Regions from separate parts of the Homo sapiens genome. Here region 2 is linked to region 1. Evidence: promoter capture Hi-C in human tissues and cell types (Jung and others, 2019). All regions are on one chromosome and are shown on one strand. Each heading gives the region's core, a stretch centred on a gene start or on the middle of the fragment in contact. The rest is flanking DNA. Distances are from core to core; before and after follow the strand shown. Region 1 has its middle 6.6 kb from the start of OR51V1. Region 2 holds the start of OR51T1 (olfactory receptor family 51 subfamily T member 1).

Evidence for each region. The method cuts DNA at HindIII sites, captures the fragments that hold promoters and counts their contacts. A contact is called where the count stands out against the background at its distance.
Region 2: a contact is called between the fragment with the promoter of OR51T1 here and a fragment that was not itself captured in region 1, in 1 of the 25 tissues and cell types used here (aorta).

What each region holds. Positions count from the first base shown.
Region 1 is chr11:5,192,278-5,195,956 of GRCh38, forward strand. No RefSeq gene overlaps it. Among named protein-coding and RNA genes, the nearest start is that of OR51V1, 6.6 kb to the right of the region's middle. RefSeq lists an enhancer at 1,433-2,169. The HindIII fragment of the contact is 5,551 bases long and covers 1-3,679 here.
Region 2 is chr11:4,880,182-4,883,860 of GRCh38, forward strand. OR51T1 (olfactory receptor family 51 subfamily T member 1) reads left to right here and starts at 1,719. Exons shown (of 1, transcript NM_001004759.3): 1 at 1,719-2,702. The coding sequence starts at 1,719. The coding sequence ends at 2,702. The region is part of intron 2 of MMP26 (matrix metallopeptidase 26); the gene reads left to right. The HindIII fragment of the contact is 5,093 bases long and covers 1-3,679 here.

The sequences.
Region 1 (3,679 bases), core at 535-3,034:
TTGTCTATTATTGAATATCTATATTTGTTTGAGGAATAATAATCAGAACAGAAGGATATGAAAGACTATAGGAATGGAAGTTTCTCAACAGCAAGATAAAATAGGTTAATGGAGTAATATGTAGAGAATGATGACTATAATTAAAGAAAATGAATTAAGCAATATACAATTAAAGCTCTTTATGTCTTTTCACAGCTTGATAGACCTTTATTTATATCACTGAATAATATTCTATCCTATGGATGTTCCACAGTTTATCCATTCATCTTGGTTACTTTCAACTTTTGGCAATTATGAGTAAAGTTCCTATAAACCTTGGTTAGTTCATGTCTGTGTGTGGACATAAATTTTTGACTCATTTGGGTAAATACATAGGAGTGTGATTGTTGGGTCACATGAAAAGACTAGTTTTGTAAGAAACTGTAAACTGTCTTCCAATTTGGCTGCACTATTTCTCATCCCTACAAGCAATAAGTGAGAGTTACTGTTGCTCCACTTCGTTGCCAGTGTTTGGTGGATGTCAGTATTTTGGAATTTGGCCTTCTAATATGTGTGTAGTGGTTGGTATCTTCTTGTTTTAATGTGCAGTTTCTTAATGACATGTGTTACTGAGTATATTTTCATGTGCTTATTGCAATCTATATATCTTCTTTGGTAAAGTGTCTGTTCAGATCTTTTGCCCACTTTGCAATTGGATTGTTTGTTTTTTATTGTAGAATTTTAAAAGTTCTTTGTATAATATGTATACAAGTCCTTTATCAGATAATATGTTTTGCAAATATGTTCTCTGTGGCTTGTTTTTTTCATTCTCTTAACTTACCATGAATTTTTATTTTATTTTATTTTGTTCTGGGTATTTTGTGGATACTCTCAATTTCAACTGCTGTGTTCTTTTGTTCAGAAAATTGTCTTGTATTGATCTCTAGTAAGTTCCTTCTACATGTTCTATTTTCACTCTCTCCTGAACTCCAGTTAAGATTTTGGAGTTCCTGACTTCACCCTATTTTTTCCTCCATGCCCCCCATATTTATTCCTTTGTCCTTTTTTTCTGCACTCTTAAATCTACTTCCTGTCCCCCTTATTGGCTACTTCATCTCATCTCTCATATTTTTGCTTTATTTACTATTTATCATGCCCTCTATTTTTTATACTATTCTGTTCAAATATCAAGGATCTAAAATGAGTGGTTATTTAATTAAGAATATTTATTATGCACCTCTTTTATTATTAGCTTTTATTTTCTGCCCTGAATAAGCTGTGCTCCAAATAAGTTTTCTTTATTAAAATTGATTCTAGGTATGTAATTTTTGTGTTGGTGGACTTAATTGCATTCCTGATAATCTTTGTCCATCCTTCTGTGTCCGGAATTGGTGGGTTCTTGGTCTCGCTGACTTAAAGAATGAAGCCGCGAACCCTCGTGGTGAGTGTTACAATTCTTAAAGATGGTGTGTTCAAAGGATGGTGTGTCCAAAGTTTGTTACTTCAGATGTGTCCAGAGTTTCTTCCTTCTGGTGTGTTCACGGTCTTGCTGGCTCCAGGAGTGAAGCTGCAGACCCCCACGGGGAGTGTTACAGCTCTTAAAGGCGGAGCGTATGGAGTTGCTCATTCCTCCTGTCTTGGGTTGTTCATCCCCCATGCTGGGTTCGTGGTCTTGCTGGCTTCAGAAGTGAAGCCGCAGACCTTCGCAGTGAGTGTTACAGCTCATAAAGGCAGCGCGGATCCAAAGAGTGAGCAGCAGTAAGATTTATTGTGAAGAATAAAAGAACAAAGCTTCCACAGCATGGTAGGGAACCCAAGTCAGTTGTCACAGCTGGCTCCGGCAGCCTGCCTTTATTTCCTTATCTGACCCCACCCACATCCTGCTGATTGGTCCATTTTACAGAGAGCTGATTGGCCCATTTTACAGAGAGCTGGTTGGTCCGTTTTGGCAGAGTGCTGATTGGTGCATTTACAAACCTTGAGCTAGACACAGAGTGCTGATTAGTGCATTTACAATCCTTTAGCTAGACACAAAAGTTCTCCAAGTCCCCACTAGATTAGCTAGACACAGAGCACTGATTGGTGCATTTACAAACCTTGAGTTAGACACAGATTGCTGATTGGTGCATTTACAAACCTTTAGCTAGACATGAAAGTTCTCCAGTTCCATATTTCATGGTGAGGAACAAAGAATATAGTGGGGATCCCCACCATATTCTTTGTTCCTCACCATGAAATATGGAACTGGAGAACTTTCATGTCTAGCTAAAGGTTTGTAAATGCAATTTATTGCGGCACTATTCACAATAGCAAAGACTTGGAACCAACCCAAATGTCCAACAATGATAGACTGGATTAAGAAAATGTGGCACATACACACCATGGAATACTATGCAGCCATAAAAAAGGATGAGTTCATGTCCTTTGTAGGGACATGGATGAAATTGGAAATCATCATTCTCAGTAAACTATCGCAAGGACGAAAAACCAAACACTGCATGTTCTCACTCATAGGTGGGAATTGAACAATGAGAACACATGGACACAGGAAGGGGAACATCACACTCTGGGGACTGTTGTGGGGTGGGGGGAGGGAGGAGGGATAGCATTAGGAGATATACCTAATGCTAAATGATGAGTTAATGGGTGAAGCACACCAGCATGGCACATGTATACATATGTAACTAACCTGCACATTGTGCACATGTACCCTAAAACTTAAAGTATAATAATAATAAAATAAAATAATTTTAAAAAGAGTATAGTGGGGATTTCTATGAACACGGTACAATTAGTTATCTGGCCAGTTACTTTGAAGGCTGATCAGAAAGAAGCCTAGCTAATCCAGTAAGCGAATACTCAAATGCCAATATCTATTAGTCCTTTCTCTTGAGACAGTTTATCATCATTCAATATGTATTCTTTTGCATAATCTCTCTGTTTCATATATTACACCTTAGTCCTGGCATCCTTTGCACTGAATTTCCCAGTGTCTGGATCATCATTGATTTGGTTACTACAGACACTAATCATTTTGCCAGAACTAAAGAGAAATGAGTACCTGGCTATCTTTTAGGCAACCTTAAACAGGTATTCACCTTTTCTACCATTTTTAGCCCTACCCCTCACGAATGCTTTATAAGTAATTTCTGTGTTTTTCCAGAAAATGCTCTTTGCAGATAACGTTTTTTCTCATTGGTATCCTTTTCTGTAGACATATAGATTTCAGATTATCCTGTTCTGTTTTTTAAAAAATCATATTTAAATGTATATACTTATCAATTTGTTCATACATATTGTGCTATTTTCTTCACAGTGTCTCTGTGTACATCTATAGCTTTAGTGGATTAGAGAAAGTAGCAGAAATGAACACATATTCAGTCTGCCAGGTTTATATGTAAATTGACACTTTCACTCATATTTCTTAAATTTATATTTTATTATTCAGTACAGAAAAATACATAAATAAAAGTACAGTTTGTTAAATTGACACAAAATTAGCAAAAGCTTTTAACAAACACTCAGACCAAGAAAGAGAACATTACCAGCATCTCAAAAGCTAAACACCGATTGATTCCTCAGTTCTGGCTGCAACCTGAAAGCCTGCATTTTCTATGTGCCATTACATGGTGCCAAGACTGCAGGGGCAGAAACCACACTTTTACTGGAAAAGCTTTAGGACATCGACTCCTACTGCAGG
Region 2 (3,679 bases), core at 469-2,968, 310 kb before region 1:
TCTACTAGGCTGCCTATAAAGCCCTCGCTTTTGGAAGCTGGTTTAGTCCCTGCTCTGTTATGGGACTGAAGAGAAGTTGGTGGTGTTTCCTGCTGATGTGACCAGGTAAGACGGGAGTGCAAACGTGGAGAAAAAAACTGAAGTGGGGCAGGGGGAGTTTTTTAAAAATGAGGGATGGTAAGATAAGGAGAGGAAGAAGATAAAGCAATAAATTGATGGGAACTACAAGTAAGATGGGATGAAGAAAGGGAGGGGTGTAACAGATACTGGAAGAAATTGAGATGGGAGAGAGAAGACAGGAGGAGAAAGAAGAGAAAAAGGCAAAAGACGATAGGACTCAAAACTCCCTTTCTGTGGCCATAATTGTTTGGTAATCAATCAATGTTGCTAAATGAAGATTTCTGTTTTTCCTGATCCTGCTTTAGTAACTAGCATTGAGAGATTAAAAACGTGCATTCCCAAACTTTCAAGAATCTCAAACTTCTGGCAGAAGAACACAGTACTTGGATATATAAATTACCAATATCAGTTGTGCCTCATTATTAAGCACCAAGGGAAAGGTCCAAGCAAAATGTGGGGCAAAGATTGAAGCAGAGGGTAGTTTTAGCTTAATATGTCAGGGAACTTTCAGGGTATATTCTGAATTGTGGAGGAAATATAATTCAGTGTTAACAAATTAACAGAAGGTAGGGGTTGGTAAATGAAGAGGATGGGTCTGTAACATTACTGATGCCAGAAAATAGGGATGTTGACCTTTGGGTCACTCTGTTATTGAGTTGAGTGAGTGTTATTCAAATAATTTCACCTGGTCTTCTGTATATGAATGGGCAGATGCTACCTTCTTCCTGGCCAGTCAGATGGAGACTTGTACCTGAAGAGAGAAAGCACTAATATATTGCTCTGGTTAGCCAGCAATGTTGAGAAAACCTTGATAAATTTAGGCACTGAACTTTGACCTACCACTGGCTCCAGAGTGTATGACCTCACAGAGAGAAAGCCCTCTGCTTCTTCTTCTGTCTCCATTCCACAGGAAAGATTTCCCCAGCAGCAAACGGAACCACTGTCTCCTCTCCTCTTACCGCCTTGCATTATCCAGTGTCATTTCTTTGCCTTTATGAGATATCATTCCAAGAACAGAGGATAACTGATATCTGCTTTATAAGCATCTCATCGCTCAGTTACTTTTGCACCCCCAAATGCCCTCTGCATTCATCTGCACGTGAAGACAAAAACAATACAAACATATGTAGACTTTTATACATAATTTTAAAAACACTTGGACTCCACAAACATTCTTCTTTAGATGAGTCATGAGAACATAGTTCTCTATTTTGCTTATTTCTCATCTCTACCCCTCCTGTACATCATATACAAGTATAAAAGGATATTAAAAAATTGTATTTTAAAGGAAGGAAATTACAACATTCAGCTATCCAAATTGTCTCATTAGCCTGGCCTCTCTGATCATCTGAAGTTTAGTAAAAAATAATAGACTTTGGAGTTAGTAAATTTGGTTTTGAATTTGAATCTGTATTGAACTATTTTAGCCTAGATATACTATTTAACCTTCCTGGGTCCATTTCCTTTCTTTAAAACAGAAGAAAAATAACTACCTTAAATTTAAAATTGTATATAAAATGACTAATAAAATGTATGCTATATATATAAAGAATCTTAATTATTTTTCTTTCCTCATAGTTCAGTGTCTTCAACCAACCATGGCAATATTCAATAACACCACTTCGTCTTCCTCAAACTTCCTCCTCACTGCATTCCCTGGGCTGGAATGTGCTCATGTCTGGATCTCCATTCCAGTCTGCTGTCTCTACACCATTGCCCTCTTGGGAAACAGTATGATCTTTCTTGTCATCATTACTAAGCGGAGACTCCACAAACCCATGTATTATTTCCTCTCCATGCTGGCAGCTGTTGATCTATGTCTGACCATTACGACCCTTCCCACTGTGCTTGGTGTTCTCTGGTTTCATGCCCGGGAGATCAGCTTTAAAGCTTGCTTCATTCAAATGTTCTTTGTGCATGCTTTCTCCTTGCTGGAGTCCTCGGTGCTGGTAGCCATGGCCTTTGACCGCTTCGTGGCTATCTGTAACCCACTGAACTATGCTACTATCCTCACAGACAGGATGGTCCTGGTGATAGGGCTGGTCATCTGCATTAGACCAGCAGTTTTCTTACTTCCCCTTCTTGTAGCCATAAACACTGTGTCTTTTCATGGGGGTCACGAGCTTTCCCATCCATTTTGCTACCACCCAGAAGTGATCAAATACACATATTCCAAACCTTGGATCAGCAGTTTTTGGGGACTGTTTCTTCAGCTCTACCTGAATGGCACTGACGTATTGTTTATTCTTTTCTCCTATGTCCTGATCCTCCGTACTGTTCTGGGCATTGTGGCCCGAAAGAAGCAACAAAAAGCTCTCAGCACTTGTGTCTGTCACATCTGTGCAGTCACTATTTTCTATGTGCCACTGATCAGCCTCTCTTTGGCACACCGCCTCTTCCACTCCACCCCAAGGGTGCTCTGTAGCACTTTGGCCAATATTTATCTGCTCTTACCACCTGTGCTGAACCCTATCATTTACAGCTTGAAGACCAAGACAATCCGCCAGGCTATGTTCCAGCTGCTCCAATCCAAGGGTTCATGGGGTTTTAATGTGAGGGGTCTTAGGGGAAGATGGGATTGAAGGTAGGAAATTGTCAGGACACGAATTATGCTTTGGAAAGAAAGGGACTTGGGGCAGTCTTATCCACAGGTGTTTTGGTTGCTGAGTCAATTCCAATTGAATTTTAGGAGTGGGAAGAAGACAGTAATTTTCCCCTGAGCTTATCAAAGAGTTTTATTTTTAATTTTTAATACCATAATTTAAACCAAATTAATTGAGCATATGTCCCTGAACCATTTTAAACAATGACATGACTCCTGTGCATATAAAAGCAGACTAGTCACTTTAATATAGTGGAAAACTTTATCTCCTTTAAGACAGTAATTTTTAGACCAGAAGTAAATTAAAATTTTATTTTCACATCCAGCTGAACAATTTTTTTTTTTCCCTGAGGTGATATTTCCAGTGAGGCAATGAAGGTTGTTACTTGAGCTGGTAAAAGGAAAAGTTACATATGTGCACAAAGGCACACACGTAGAAAGTTATAATTAAAAACTTTAGGAAAATCTTGTACATTGGTTTCAGTTCCTGGTGTCACTTCTAGAGAGTGCTGTATCCTTACAAATATACTCCCTATACCTCTATCTTTCTTTAATCCCTTTTCTTCTTATAGAAGTGATATTTTTTCAGTTTTAGTTAGTACTTTATATACCTCCAATCCATCCAATATATAAAATTACACATTGACTTTCATTGTTTTCTCATTGCCTATATATTCTAATATAGTTCTAATCCTGATTCCATAGCTACTCCATTGCTAACTCTCAGAACTGCAGCTTTTTTCTATTTGCTCTTGTTTCTTGGGTTGTTAATTTTCTACCTAGCTATTGACTGCTTCTACCTTCTGGTATACTCATCACTCTAGAATTGCACAGTAGCTTTGATGCTTTTGAATAGGAAATTTCTAGATTGCCTTTATTAACAATATTTGTTTTGTGAAGAAGTAAACTCAGGCACAGGGTTGTTAGGGTGCTGGAGATAATTCTTCACATTTTTTT